5 separate regions of the Homo sapiens genome follow, and regions 2, 3, 4 and 5 are each linked to region 1. Evidence: promoter capture Hi-C in 16 types of primary human blood cells and fetal thymus (Javierre and others, 2016). All regions are on one chromosome and are shown on one strand. Each heading gives the region's core, a stretch centred on a gene start or on the middle of the fragment in contact. The rest is flanking DNA. Distances are from core to core; before and after follow the strand shown.

The links. The method cuts DNA at HindIII sites, captures the fragments that hold promoters and counts their contacts. A CHiCAGO score of 5 or more calls a contact.
Region 2: a fragment that was not itself captured here is called in contact with the fragment with the promoter of PRP4K in region 1 in 3 of 17 cell types (total CD8 T cells, fetal thymus and activated CD4 T cells); the score reaches 7.4 in total CD8 T cells.
Region 3: a fragment that was not itself captured here is called in contact with the fragment with the promoter of PRP4K in region 1 in 1 of 17 cell types (total CD8 T cells); the score reaches 6.1 in total CD8 T cells.
Region 4: a fragment that was not itself captured here is called in contact with the fragment with the promoter of PRP4K in region 1 in 3 of 17 cell types (total B cells, activated CD4 T cells and total CD4 T cells); the score reaches 6.8 in total B cells.
Region 5: a contact is called between a fragment that was not itself captured here and the fragment with the promoter of PRP4K in region 1, in 1 of 17 cell types (total CD4 T cells). The highest score is 5.3, in total CD4 T cells.

Annotation. Positions count from the first base shown.
Region 1 is chr6:4,019,867-4,022,792 of GRCh38, reverse strand. It overlaps PRP4K (pre-mRNA processing factor kinase PRP4K), which reads right to left and starts at 1,493. Exons shown (of 15, transcript NM_003913.5): 1 at 1,327-1,493. The coding sequence starts at 1,367. LOC124901245 (a long non-coding RNA gene) reads left to right here and starts at 1,626. Exons shown (of 2, transcript XR_007059415.1): 1 at 1,626-2,926. RefSeq lists enhancers at 251-310, 1,353-1,662. The HindIII fragment of the contact is 11,601 bases long and covers 1-1,615 here.
Region 2 is chr6:3,065,313-3,068,238 of GRCh38, reverse strand. It overlaps a transcript of RIPK1 not described here. Among named protein-coding and RNA genes, the nearest start is that of RIPK1, 1.7 kb to the left of the region's middle. The HindIII fragment of the contact is 752 bases long and covers 1,001-1,752 here.
Region 3 is chr6:3,104,953-3,107,878 of GRCh38, reverse strand. It overlaps RIPK1 (receptor interacting serine/threonine kinase 1), which reads right to left. Exons shown (of 11, transcript NM_001354930.2): 9 at 1,828-2,397. It overlaps LOC107986556 (a long non-coding RNA gene), which reads left to right. Exons shown (of 4, transcript XR_001743928.3): 3 at 1-77; 4 at 1,088-2,457. Among named protein-coding and RNA genes, the nearest start is that of BPHL, 12 kb to the left of the region's middle. The HindIII fragment of the contact is 607 bases long and covers 1,197-1,803 here.
Region 4 is chr6:3,272,675-3,275,600 of GRCh38, reverse strand. It overlaps SLC22A23 (solute carrier family 22 member 23), which reads left to right. Exons shown (of 10, transcript NM_015482.2): 10 at 2,189-2,926. The coding sequence ends at 2,546. Among named protein-coding and RNA genes, the nearest start is that of PSMG4, 15 kb to the right of the region's middle. The HindIII fragment of the contact is 825 bases long and covers 1,146-1,970 here.
Region 5 is chr6:3,348,016-3,350,941 of GRCh38, reverse strand. The region is part of intron 3 of SLC22A23 (solute carrier family 22 member 23); the gene reads left to right. Among named protein-coding and RNA genes, the nearest start is that of PSMG4, 91 kb to the right of the region's middle. RefSeq lists an enhancer at 1-1,779. The HindIII fragment of the contact is 2,265 bases long and covers 313-2,577 here.

The DNA.
Region 1 (2,926 bases), core at 244-2,743:
CACACAATGAACTTGGTGAGAAACAGTAAGAGGTTAAAGCTAATTTAAAACTTCAGAATCCATTTGTTCTCTGCTAAGTCAAATTGTAAAAATAATACAGCAGTTTTGAAAAGCCCTTAATTAAAAATTCCGTTTCTCTGCCTAGCTGAGTAATGCAGATGATTGAGGAGCCCAAAACTGGATGCACAGCAATTAAGTGTCAGGTTGTCTGGTGGCAAAGATTTCTTCTATCGCTCAGTCACAAGTTGCTGGGAGACTATACCTCTTTCTAAGATGGCTGGAAACAGATCAGACAGTGCAGATGCAAAAAAAAACAAAAAACAAAACAAAAAAAAAAAACGGTCGCTATAGGAACATTGCCGTAAAATCCATTCTCTCTGTTAAGGTTCTTGTTTGAGTTTTCCTAACATAGACATGAACAGCAAAATACTGCTTTAAGTTAACCAATGGTTAACCTTTGCAGCATACACTCGTATTTTTTTTTTTTTCATTTTTCATTTGGCCGCATGGATTCTTAATGTTAGCTTAATTATAGACATAAAGTGGTTTGGCAGTAGCTAGCAATTCCCACTACTCCTTCCACTCGTCCTCCTAAAGAAGGGTTATAAACTCAGGCAAAAAAAAAAAAAAAAAAAAAATGCCAGGCCTCAAAACCAAAGACTCTATCTTACTTTGCCTCAAGTTTGCAAGTTGGTAAAAAAGCTGCCGGTAGGCACTCAAAACAAAACAAAACAATACTGGGTGACTGCTGGACTAAAGAGTACAAGGTGACGAGATCAAGTATCCCGCTAGCCACAGACTAGCTCTGGGATGGCCAGAGAGTGTGACCCCAGCACCTCCGCTCTCTGCTTTCAGGTCCTAAACTGACACCAGTAAAAGGACGACTGGGGGTACCGCATGAGGAAGAAAAGACTTAGGGCTTGGCCCGCCTGCTGCCACTGACCCTCGTGTCCCCAACACAGATGCCGCTAAGAGCTGCGGCCAGGGAGCTCAGATGGGTCCCCAAAAGAGGCATAGGAAAGCGCGACCTCACTGCCGCGGCAGCCGCCACGCGCACCGGACCTGTAGAGGCCGCTCGCGCCTACGCCTCCCGGGGCAACGACGCGCGGCAGGCCGCGGCCGCCTTCACCCCAGCAGCCACGGCCTCTGGGAGAAGGAAGCTCGAAGGCCGCCTGCTCCCCATGCCTCCCACCCCACAACGAATCGCGCCGGAAAAAGCAAAGTTTGACTCTCGCCGTTAGGCCCGAACTTTCCCGCCACCCCGTGCAGCTCCCACTCGGCAGTCCCCGGGCTCCAGCTTCTGGCCCACTCACAGAGACTACTTACTCTGGCTGCTCCCGTAGCGACTGGGTCTCCGCGGCGGCCATCTTGAACTTCCTGACTCCTCGGCGGCGGTGGCGGCGGCTCCCGGACGGTGGAGGGTAGGGGAAGTGGAGGAAGAAGGAAAAGAGCTGCCGCGCATGTGCCGACCGTGTAGGGAAGAGCTGGGTTCTGAGTCCGCGCTAAGAATCCGGATATAAAACCCCACGTCCCGGGACTAGCGCAGGGCGTAGTGTCGCAGCTTCCGGGAGCATGGTGGGCGGTGCTGCTAAGGATTGAGGTCGAGTGTCAAGCTTGAGCTCTTCAGTCAATGCTAGAAATGGACGTTTAGTTATTGAATCCCGCTAACGAGGGGAGCCAACAAGAGAGGGATGTCGGCATCGGGTGTGCGGTTCCAAGAACTGATTGGCTGTGGAGATTAGAAGTTAGGTGAAAATTCTCTTAAACTCGGGCAAACGAATTGATGATTTTTCCCCTGGTCGGTGTTAGAGACACAGTAAATGCTTAACCATCTCGCTAGACAGCTCAACTGAAGTGGCATTAACTTCCCGGGAAAGTGTGTAGAAAGGCATTTTTAAATACTGTAAACTCGAACGTAAATATCTTTTAATGTGGAACTGTTACTACATTTAACACTGAACATCTTTTCAACTTTTACATAGTTCAAGGGTGACACGATTCAGTTCGTTATTTCCGTAATTGGAACGTGTAATGTTTTTTGGCCCAAGTTGCGTTATGTGATTTTGTTTTCTTCTATAACGACTCTACAGTAATGGGGTAGAATGGAATATTGTGGGGAAAACATTTACTGGCTCTTGGAGAACTCTCAAAACCAATTAGGTTCTTTAATTCCTCTTTAAAAAAATATTTCTCGCCTGGCGCTGTGGCTCACCCCTGTAATCCCAGCACCTTGGGAGGCCGAGGCGGGCGGATCACCTGAGGCCAGGATTTGGAGACCAGCCTGGCCAACATGGTGAAACCCCGTCTCTATTAAAAATACAAAAAATTAGCTGGGCGTGGTGGCGCTCGCCTATAATCCCAGCTACTCCGGAGGCTGAGGCAGGAGAATCGCTTGAACCCGAGAGGCGGAGTTTGCACTGAGATCACGCCACTGCACTCCAGCCTGGGCGACAGAGCAAGATTCCATCTCAAAAAAAAAAAAAAAATTATCCATACTTTGGAACCTGGAAGCAGCGTGACGATCACTTTCATTCTTGTAATCATCTGAGTTTGCCTTTGTCCTAGAAAATTGAGTTCGGAATCTCCAGACTCCATACATATCTCTTGATTTCCAGGGGAGAAGGGTTTTAAATGTTCTTACAAAATGTCTCTTGTTGCCTGAATTCCAAACGTTTTGAAATGTTAGGGCCGGGCGCGGTGGCTCACGCCTGCAATCCTCTAGCACTTTGGGAGGCCGAGGCGGGCGGATTGCCTGAACTCAAGAGTTCGAGTCCAGCCTGGCCAACATAGCGAAACTCCGTCTCTGCTAAAAATACAAAAAATTAGCCGGCGTGGTGGCGCCTGTAGTCTCAGCTACTCGGGAGGCTGAGGCAAGAGAATCGCTTGAACCCGGGAGGCCGAGATCGCGCCATTGCACTCCAGCCTG
Region 2 (2,926 bases), core at 127-2,626, 950 kb after region 1:
AGGATTCAGAGCTCTGCGGGTTAGCATAGGCAAGTTAGCATTCCTCTACCTTCATCTGTAAAGTGGGGCTGTTGAGGAGGAAATGTGATTATTTTGCAGCCCTTTAAAATGGTAATTGTGAAGTCTCGAGCAAAGTTGGAACTGCATGCTATTCATGTATATTAAAAATCAAATAATAAAATTATATGCACATCAGGCCGGGCGCGGTTGTTCACGCCTGTAATCCCAGCACTTTGGGAAGCCAAGGCGGGCGGATCACTTGAGGTCAGCAGTTCGAGACCAGCCTGGCCAACATGGTGAAACCCCATCTCTACTAAAAAATACAAAAATCAACTGGGCGTGGTGGCGGGCACCAGCAATCCCAGCTACTCGGGAGGCTGAGGCAGGAGAATCCCTTGAACCTGGGAGGTGGAGATTGTAGTGAGCCGAGATCGCGCCACTGCACTCCAGCCTGGGTGACAAGAGCAAGATTCCGTCTCAAAAGGAAAAAAAAAAAAAGCACAACAGGATTACATACTGTGAAAAGATATGTATGTCAAGAGAACTAGCCACGTTCACAACACGAGCCACAGACTGGGAGAAAATATTTGCAAAAGACATATCTGATAAAGCACTGTGACCCAAAATATACCAAAAAAAACCCTCTTAAAATGCAACAATATGAAAATGTACAACTTGATTAAAGGCGGGCAAAAGCTCTGAACATACACCTCACCATATGTATATGCATATGAAAAGATGCTCAACATCATGTCATTAAAGAATTGCAATTTAAAAAAACAAATACTATTACACATTTATTAGAATGGCTAAAATTCAGAACACTGACAACAACAAATGTTGATGAGGATCTGGAGCACAAGGAACTCCCATACATTCCTAGTGGGAATGCCTAATGTTAGAGTCTGGAAGACATTTTGGCAATTTCTTAACCAAGCTCTTCTTACCATAAGATGAAGCAACTCCACACCTTGGTATTTACCCAAACGAGTTGAAAGCTTATGCCCATACAAACACCTGTACAAGAATGTCTATAGCAGCTTTATTCATAATTGCCAAAACTTGAGGGCATCCAAGATATCACTTAATGGGTGGACAGATAAGCTGTGGTACATCTATACAATGGAATATTAAGTGCTAAAAAGAAATGAGCTCTGAAGCCACAAAAAAAAAAAAAAAAAAAAAAATCCTGGAGCAATCCTAAATGTATAAATCTAAGTGAAAGAAGCCAATCTGAGAAGACTACATAATGCATGATTCCAACTATGTGACATTCTGGAAAAGGAAAAACTACGGAGATAGTAAAAAAGATCAGCGGCTGCCAGGGATTTGCAGGGAAGGAGGGATGGATAGGTGAGGCACAAGGGATTTTTAGGGCAGTGGAGTCTGACGTTACAGGGTTGGGTACATCTCTATACATTTGTCAAATGTATCTTGAATATACACAAAGAGCAAAACCTAACAAACTCCGGACTTTGGCTGATAATGTATATGTTTTATCCATATTGGTTCATTTTTGTAACCATGAATCTATGTTGGTTTATCAGGTGTGACAAATATTCCACAGTAATGCAGGATGTTGATGGTAGGGGAGGCTGTACAGTCCAGGATGTTTGTGGAAGGGGATATTTTCTTTCTGCTTAGTTTTGCTGTAAACCAAAACAGCTCTAAAACAAAGTCTATTCATTATTTTTTAAAAGATGTACACATATCAAAAAAGACGAAAGGCAGAGCTATTCACTCAGCAAAGCTTTCTATCTACTGTATGCCAAGCAGGTACTAGATACAAGAGCATCTGGTGATAGATACAAGAAATACAAAAAGGAATTCATTCCTTCAGTAAATATTTACTGAGCACCTGTTCTAGGCACTGAAGACTCGGTTGTGAATTAAACACAAAAAATCTCTATGTTCTGGCCGTGTGTAGTGGCTCACACCTGTAATCCTAGCACTTTGGGAGGCCAAGTCGGGCGGATTGCCTGAGCTCAGGGGTTCCGGACCAGCCTGGCAAACATGATGAAACCTCGTCTCTACTAAAAATACAAAAATTAGCTGGGCGTGGTGGTGCATGCCTGTAGACCCAGCTACTCAGGAGGCTGAGGCGGGAGAATTGCTTGAACCCAGAAGGCGGAGGTTGCAGTGAGCCAAGATTGCTCCAGCCTGGGTGACAGAGCCAGACTCCGTCTCAAAAAACAATAAAAAATAAAAAACTCCACGTTCCATTCGTGGAGCTTGCATTCTAATGGGGAAGACAAAAAGTTATTGCCCATCACTGTCCTCTAGACATCATGTGACCTTGGGAGGTTGGAAATGCGTTGTTTTTGCTTCATTTTGTGTTCAGTGTTTTAACTCAGAAACATCTATTTGGGAGCTTTACTCATTACTCCCAGCAAAAGCCATGAGTGTAGACTGTGCATGAGATGAAGGAACTGGTCCTTGCAGAACACCAGAATGGAAAAGGCAAGAAACAGCCCAAGGTGAGGAAAGAAAACCAGCGAGAACAAAGAGCTGGTACTATCTCTGAAGCCCGTGGAGGCCAAAGTGTGAATATGAGGGGGTAGGTCTCTTGGCCACAGGCCTGAAACCAAATGAACCCCCACCCCCAGGCTGCAGTTCCCAGTGCACTTGGAAATGAGACCCTGACTCCTCCAGGTGAGCCTGGGAGACCTCCCTGACTCCTTTCCATCTCCCCCTCCTCCCCCACACCCATCTCCAAGGCCTGCCCTCTACGCCCACATTTCTTCCCACTTTGGATCCTGTGCCTGGTCTAATGCCCAGGCCCCCTCCCGAGCCTCTGGTCTCCCTAGAGCCACTCCCCACTGTCGGGACACCTCATCTGTGCTCCCCAAAACGCCACGCAAAGCACTGGAGAGCCTTGGACAATGAACACAACCCGCACCCCCAGCCACCCCCGCCACAGCCGCAC
Region 3 (2,926 bases), core at 251-2,750, 910 kb after region 1:
ACTGAAAGCATCTCAGAACCCTGAAGAAGCTGCATCCCTGTACATCTGTCACTGGCAGAACCAGGAACCAGAACGAGGTGAAAACACAAAGAGATTTCTGGCACTAAACGGGTGTATTTGGGTTGCTCATGTAGAAAAAAGATAAAAAATGACACATTAAATATTGGTTTAGGGTCTGCCTTCTGTCCACTAGGATTTAAACTGTGTGAGGGAAGGGACTCAGGCTGTTTGTTCAGTTATAGCTCCAGTGCCTGGAGAACTGCACGTCACAAAGTGGGAAGAGTTTTGGAATTTTTTTTTTTTTTTTTTTTTTTTTGCGACAGTCTCGCTCTGTCACCCAGGCTGGAGTGCAGTGGTGCAATCTCGGCTTACTGCAACCTCTGCCTCCCGGGTTCAAGTGATTCTCCTGCCTCACCCTCCCAAGTAGCTGGGATTACAGGCGCACGCCACTATGCCCAGCTTTTTTTTTTTTTTTTTTGTATTTTTAGTAGAGACGGGGTTTCACCGTGTTAGCCAGGATGGTCTCAATCTCCTGACCTCGTGATCTTCCCACCTCGGCCTCCCAAAGTGCTGGAATTACAGGCGTGAGCCACTGTGCCCAGCCAGTGGAATTTTTTTTTTTTTTTCGAGACACAATCTCACTCTGTTGCCCAGGCTGGAGTGCAGTGGCATGATCTCAGCTCACTGCAACGTCTGTCTCCAGGGTTCAAGTGATTCTCCTGCCTCAGCCTCCCTAGTAGCTGGGGCTAAAGGCATGCGCCACCACGCCTGGCTAATTTTTGTATTATTTAGTAGAGACAGGGTTTTACCATGTTAGCCAGGCTGGTCTCGAACTCCTGGCCTCAAGTGATCCACTCACCTCAGCCTCCCAAAGTGCTGAGATTACAGGCATAAGCCACCACACCTGGCCAACCATGGCCCCAGCTGAAATTTTTATTGACTTAATCATGAATGAATAAAATGATATGGCAATACTAATAAAAAATTTTATCCCCAACATGAAGGAAACAAAAGGACATTCTGCTCATAGGATTATACATGACTTGGATACTGCTTAATGTCTAATCCAATATTTTGCATTCTACAGATCTTATCATAAAACCTATGGAAGAAATCGAGGATGTTTGCATAGGACGTTTTTGGAGAATTTGGCCTTTTGAAAGAAAATGTAACTAAGCTCTGTGGTTCTGAAAGCTTCCTCTACCTGAGATGATTTCAAGATCTCCAGGACACCTGTGGGTATCATTGGTAGATGCTGTTCAGGTAGTTAAGGTGATGTTGGTGAGTATTATTTGATAAAAATGCTGGATATTACATTAACTCACTTCCATTCTAGACTGCCAGTAACTACTATCACCTACCTTTTACTTCACCTGATAGAGATATGGGAGTTAAAAGAAAATTTTTCATCACTAATGGTAGTCTTTGAGCTATATAAGGTCAGAAACAAAAATATCCAAGACTGATTTCTTACCTTCAAAAAGTAGCAAGCAAGGTAAAAGCAAATAAGCAGATAACTTCCCATTTATCAGAGATTGGGTGAAATAGGACTACTATGCACTCCAGGTTAGAGTCAAAGATGCCTGCCAGTCACAAGGACCTGTAACCCGATGCTTGCGGGCATCTGTGATGAATCCTAGCCCCAGATGAAATACTCCCAGACCAAGTGGTTTGGCAGGGTCCATTCCACAGGGGCAATTTGCATCTGGCAGCTGATGATGCCCTCTGTCCCCATTATAACCCACAATCTATAATAGAGCTGCTTGGTTGCTGTATTTTCTGAAAAATAAAAAAAGACAAGCTTGTGACTATCGAAGACCCATTTACCTGTTGGTGGCAAGGAGCTGAATGGCATGGTGGGTGTATTTCCTAGATAGTTGGTCTCAGGCACTGGGATATTATGCAGACTAGGCATATGACTTGGAATTGGCCTGTACCAAACTCTGGGACCTGCTGTTCCTGGATCCAGTGGTCTTGTTCCAAAGCCATGTGAGCTATATAATCCATTGTTCTGATACAGTACTTGAGGTTGGCTGGTGAGCCCTGAGGGCTGGTGCACTGCATTACCATGACTGGCTGCACTGGAATAAGCAGTGCCTTTTCCCTCTGTATTCTGAAAATTCTCGTAAGGTCTTTGCTGTGCAAAAGGGTCATGGGAGACCCTGCGTCTCCTTTCCTCCTCTCTGTTGTAAGCCACATTCTGTCTGGGCTGCTGTTTCGTCTGCCTGTCCATGCGGCTGCCATAAAGATGGTAGTTGGCTTCGTCTTGGAGTTTACTCTGCAGGCTGGGCTCATTCTCTTCTTGTGGGTGCTCCAGGGAAGGAGCAAACCAGGACTCCTCCACAGGACCCATCCCAAGTCCCTGGGAACTGTGCAGTGAACCAGGCTGTTCTGTGGCTGAGAAGAAATGATCAACATTAGAATGGGTGTCATGAAACATTAAAAAGTAAAATAAAATCTGAGCGCCGTCATGAATCTGTATCTCAAAGTAACACACAGAAAACAAGTACGAGACCAGTCCAAAGCATTTAGGAGATGGTCCTCTTCCCACAAGCTTTACAAATAATAATAGGAGCTCCTCGCTGGCAGTAAGAGAGTACTAGGAAAATTATAGCAAGCAAGAGAAAAGCGGCTGTTGCAGGGATGATCAAGGAAAAAAGGGACTTGGTTTGGAGCAGAGAAGGTGGTTGTCTCCTTGGAGCAATTCAGGTGGAAAATAAGATCTGTGGCTGGGTGCGGTGGCTCACGCCTGTAATCCTAGCACGTTGGGAGGCTGAGGCGGACGGATCACCTGAGGTCAGGAGTTCGAGACCAGCCTGGCCAACATGGCGAAACCCCATCTCTACTGAAAATACAAAAATTAGCCGGGCATGGTGGTGCATGCCTGTAATCCCTGCTGCTTGGGAGGCTGAGGCAGAAGAATCGC
Region 4 (2,926 bases), core at 309-2,808, 750 kb after region 1:
AAGTTCTTTATATATTCTAGTTACAAGTCCTTTATCTGATATATGCTTCACGAATATTTTCTCCCAGTCTATGGTCTTTTTTTCTTAAACATGTATCTTTTGAAGGGTAGGAGTTTTTAATCCTAATGAAGTCCAATTGATCAGCTTTTTCTTTTATGGATCCTACTTTTGATGTTATGTGTAAGAAATCTTTGCCTAACCCAACGTCATAAAGCTTTTCTCTTGTTTTCTTCTAGAAGCGTTATAGTTTGAGCTAAGTTAAGCACTTAGATTTTATTATCCATTTTGAGTTCATTTTTTTACATGATGTGAAGGGTCCAACATCATTCTTTTGCACATGAATATCCTGTTGTCCCAGCACCACCTGTTGAAAAAACTATCCCTTCCCCCTCACTGGATTTGCCTCCATCTACAGTCAGTTGACCATAAATGTGAAGGTTAGTTTCTGAACTCCCAGTTCTGTTCCATTGATCTATTGATATATACACCAACACCACACTGCCTTAAGCCGTATGGCTTTATAGTTTTGAAACTGGGAAGGCAAGCCTTCTTTGTTCTTTTCCAAAATTGTTTTTGACTACTCTGAGTCTTTTGCATTTCCATATAAATTTTAGAATTGGCTGTTTTCTGAAAAAAAAAAAAAGTCACCTGGAATTTTGATAGGGATTATGTGGAATGTATAGATCAATTTGGGAAAAATTACCATCTTTATAATATTTAGTCTTCTAATTCATGAACATGGAATGTCACTCCATTTATTTTTATCTTTTAATTTTCAGCAATGTTTTATCTTTTTCAGCATACAAGTCTTGCATTCCTTTGTTATTTATTTCTAAACATTTTATTCATTGGATGTTATTGTGAATGGCATTTTCATTTTTGGGTGTTGCTAGCACGTAGACATATAATTGACTTTTGTATGTTGATCTTTTATCTTGTGACCTTGTAGGACAGTCTTTTGGTGAGTTAGGAGCTACCTATAGTGCCAACCAAGAGAACCACAGACTAGTCAAGAGCTGGAGTTATCTACCTGCCTCCTACCTGTTGCAGGGACCTCCCTTTCAGCCCACTCAGCCTCAGCAGTTCAAAGGATACAGCCCTCTTCACTTCAAGGGGGTGCCTAACGAGCAGCCCATTAGAAAGCTTCCCCAAACCAAAGGACCAGTCTACCTGCTGCTGTGGAGCGAGGCACACAACTCCACTCCCTCTTCCTTGAGACAAGGCCACCTCTGCCTACCTCCTTCAATGAGGCCCCAGAACTGGGGACCAGGCAGCCCTCTCTAGCCTGGCCTGACACCTGAGCGCCACGGTCCCACTGCAGCCTGGTACAGCACTGCTTTCTCAGGGGCCACAGAACACCTTTGTCCCAGTAATGTGTTTTTAGGTCAAAGTGGAGAGGTTTGAGGGATAGGGGTTCTGTAAGTTTTGCGTATCTACTAATCCCTGGGACTCTTGGCTGCTCCCGTACAAGGCAGGGAGTGGAAATCAATGGCTTGCCTTCTGGACTTTGGTTATCCTGAGCTCAGAGCTGCAGTGAGTTCCTCTCTGTCAGTGCACAGCTTCATTTGGGGGACCCTTCAGGCACAATCCTCAGAGATGGGACCGTTTCCAATGGTGGTATGTGAGCAATTTCAGGAGACACGTGGGCCATCAACTCACAGTGAGGAAACTACTCTTTTAAAGTATCTTGCAGTCTCTCCAGTTATGACAAAGAGAAAGTCTCTGTTCGTGTTGGTATGTCCTTAGTACCCTCTTTAACCCTTGGTAATCCCCCAGGCCTTCAGGAAATGGCATAATTTCAATCCCTTTTGTTTTTCCTTGTATACTACTTATGGCAAGTAATATCAGCTTCCCATTTACAGTAGTATTATATAAGGCTGCCTTTCAAAATAAAGTTCTCATGGTCCCCAGCCCTGAAAAAACAATAAAAATAGGAAACATTAAAGAAAAAGATAAATTAAGTAAAAGCTTTTGATTTGATGAGGAAAAACAGTCACTGCCGTAGAGTGGCCTTGTACAGACACAGCCAGGGTGCTGGTGACATGGGACGTGTGAGGTCGGGGTATACTGGGCAGTGCCCAGGGCAGCAGGGCCCCTGCAGAGGTGGCTTCCTGGTCCACCCCGAGCTTTCCCGGGATCCAGCCCGCTAGCCCACAGCAGCAATCCCTGTGCTTCCCTCCCCCTGCAGGTGTGGCGGGCTGGGGCTGGTGCTGGCCAGCGCGGGCTTCGGCATGCTGACGGCACCCATCATCGAGCTGCACAACCAGAAAGGCTACTTCCTGCACCACATCATCTTTGCCTGCTGCACGCTCATCTGCATCATCTGCATCCTCCTGCTGCCCGAGAGCAGGGACCAGAACCTGCCTGAGAACATTTCTAACGGGGAGCACTACACGCGCCAGCCGCTGCTGCCGCACAAGAAGGGGGAGCAGCCACTGCTGCTCACCAACGCCGAGCTCAAGGACTACTCGGGCCTCCACGATGCCGCAGCCGCGGGTGACACACTGCCCGAGGGTGCCACGGCCAACGGCATGAAGGCCATGTAGCCCGGCCTGCGGAACCCGGGGCTCCAGGGTCTGGGGCAGCTTGGGCACAGGTTTACAGACCAGGGACCGAACACGCAGCCAGGGGTGGGAAAGCTGCCTCAGCCAAGCTGAGCCTCTCAACTGGTGTGGGGAAATCCTGTCTTTCCAAAAGTCCAAGGAGCGCGGGTCGGAGGAGACAAACTCTTTGGAAATAACCCTTTCAAGACTTTCTTTTCTGCCGTTAAATGTGTGTATTTATTTTGGTCATTTTTACGAGAAGCACTTTATTCCCTCTCCCTCTCACTGATCACAAATGGAATCACCTCCCTGGGCAGCGAGACGCAGTTGCTCTGGGAAGATGCCACAGTGACCAGGGCCATGGCCGGTCCCTCTGGGGAGAT
Region 5 (2,926 bases), core at 196-2,695, 670 kb after region 1:
ATAAGAGAAGATGATTAAAAATTCAAGTGCCCTTTGAAGATACAAGATGATTGACCTCAGAATGGGAGTGAGAAGGGCAGTGAGACCAGCTCCCCATTACCACCAAGAAATTCCATTTGTTTTCTCTCTCTGATGTGAAAATAACTCCGTCTCCCTTGAGGAATCTGCTCTCATAATAAAAATCACCATTTGCATTTTTTAAGTAATAATGCTGATTTTTCTGTTAGAAACTGAAGGATAACTAAAACATGCTGGCTCTGACAACCAGTTTGACGAATGGATCAGTTAATCCAGCCTGCAGCTGTCAAAGCTTCAGAGCAGGCATGGGCCAAGTTTTCTGCAAAGGGCCAGAACATGAATATTCTGGGCTGTGCAGGCCATACGGTCTCTGCCCCACCTACTACTCCCTGCTACTGCAACAGCAGCCATGGACAATCTGGAGGTGAATGAGTGTGACCGCATTCCACAAAAGCCGCATTTGTCGACACTAAAATTTCAATTTCACATAAACTTCACACAAGAGATATTATTCATCTTTTGGTTGTCTTGAACCATTTAAAAATGTCCATTCTTAGGGACGAGCTGAATAAAATCAGGCAGTGCATTGTACAAAAACAGCAGCCTTCAGCAGGATTTGGCCCGAGGGTCATAGTTTTCCAACCCTACTTTAGAGCAGCTTTTAAAACTGTAGTTTATGACACATTAGGGCTTGGGTTAAGGGTTATAGAATCCATCGGGTGGGTCCTGCCCAGCATTTTTAAAGAAAAAAATAGAATTAAGTGCATCACACACAATAAGGGTTAAGTATCGTTTCATGAAAATTTGGGGTGTGTGTGTGCATGCATGCTGAGTCACTATGCTGTGCAGTACTGGGAAATAATTTTCTATCAACCATGGTCCTACTCATCCACCAGACTTTTATGTGCTTCAAAGGACACAAAGACCAAGAACCAAGGGACTGTGAATGTACTTAGCCCCCAAGAGGGGATGAAGGCGACCGTGATCATCTGCCTTCGTGTATCACAGGAATCAAGAGCCCTGGAAGAGGTGCTCTGTCCCAGGTCTGTGATCAGAGAGCGATGGGAGCAATAAGCCACCACCTTATCTTTCCTGAAGATATCAGGTTGCTTGAGGCACTGCCCACTTCATATGAATTTCCTGCTTTCATGTTAGGCTTATTTCTGAGTAGTTCAAATAATTCATCTTCTCCACTCTGCTCTTCCACCTCCTGAGATTCAGTGATATTTAAAGCACTTGGGTGGTTGAGTATTCAATATTCTTCACCAAACAGAAATACAATAGTGTGTGGGAAGAAGGGCCATGCATTTTAATCTGATGAAAACAGCTCATGCCAGCTGTGACGGTTAGCCTAACTGCAAACTAGGCTGTGAGGAGGTGGAGGAGGAAGGAAGGTATATTTTGGTACTATAATAATTCAGGGCCTGCAGGGGATGCCCTATGGTTGAACCACATTCTAGAGAGGGTTCCAGAAACTCCAGGGGCCACAGGGCTTGCCTCGGGGTTGGCATTGGGATTTGGTGGTAGGAGTCAATTTGGCCGAAGAGTCCTCGGGTAGGTGGGATAGGGAGAGAGAGGCTGCCTCTTAGGTCCCCAGGAAGTGGGGAGGAAGAAAGACAGGTAGGAGACAGAAAGGTGTTTGGGGCTCTGACTGCCCAGTCCGAAGCCCCAGCTCAGTGCTGAGCTGCTTGGTGGCTAGGGCAGGCTTCCTCGAGGGTTCTGCAGGCTTTGGCAGGGAGGAACGAAGAGCAGGGAGAAGTGCCCCGCGGCCAGTTGGCCCCAGTGGGAAGCACCCCATCACCCAGCTGTTTGCAGAAAAGGCAGCTGTCCTTGAGGGCAGAAGCAGAGGAGCATCCCCCTTCCTTGTCATCCTGCTCAGGGGAGGCTTTGTGGCTTTCTGGTTTACCCAGAGGGAGACACTGTTTACTCTTCTGAAGGGGTTATGAAAGATGACTATTTCCAGAGTGGTGATGAACGCTGGAGAGACAGTTGGAAGGGAAGACAGTACCAGTTGACTCTCCTCTGAGGCAAAGCCTCTAAATTCCTAAGCCCTCCCTGCCCTGGCTCTGGGTCATGGGGACCCGGTCCGTTGGCTGGGAAGGGTTTGTCTCCTTGTGACCCAGGATGCTTGCTGTAAGATTTGGTGACTTTCTGCAGCTGGAAGGTTTGAAGCTCTGTTTTCCTTGGACAGTTTGCTAGTTGGATCTTGGGTTGAATGAGCAGCCGCTAGGGGTGAAGTATCTGGCCTCAGGTGTTGGGTGGGTCAGGTCCTAGGAGTTGGGAAGGGCACCACACCCAGCTCCGTGCCGGGAATGTGGTGGATGCTCGTGTGATTGCCAGGCTAGTAAGTGCCGAATGGTGGGCTGCATTTTTCCATCAACAGGGCCGGATTCTATAGTGTGCACTCACTTAGGTGCAGATGGGACTCAGTAAGAAGACAGTGGCCTTGCTAAATAAAGAAACTGAGAGCAAGATAAACACAATGCAGACTGCTATTGTCACTCTGAGCAGATGGCCACAAGTCACCCAAAGCTCAGGTAAGAAGAGAAAACAGAAGCTTGTAGAAAAATACAGCTCCTGCTCCAGGAAAGATGGCGCCTAGGCTTTGGTTCAGAGGCCAGACCCCTCCGTTGTAGTAGCTGTTCCAGGCCATGGTCAGAAACCAATTCCCTTCCTCACTTCCCCACATCCCCACATCCTTCCGTCCCCAAGCATGGAATCGTGGAACGTGCAGGCACCAAGGATTAGAGGGTTGGGACTGAAGAAAACAAAAAGAATGTCTCTTTCCTCCTGGAGCCTTCCAGAGCAGGAGACACACAGCATGCAGGTAACTAGATAAGTGTGTCCCCCACAGCTGGGACAGGTGCCATGAAGGAGAAGCCTGCAGTGAGATAAGAGAGCCAGTGAG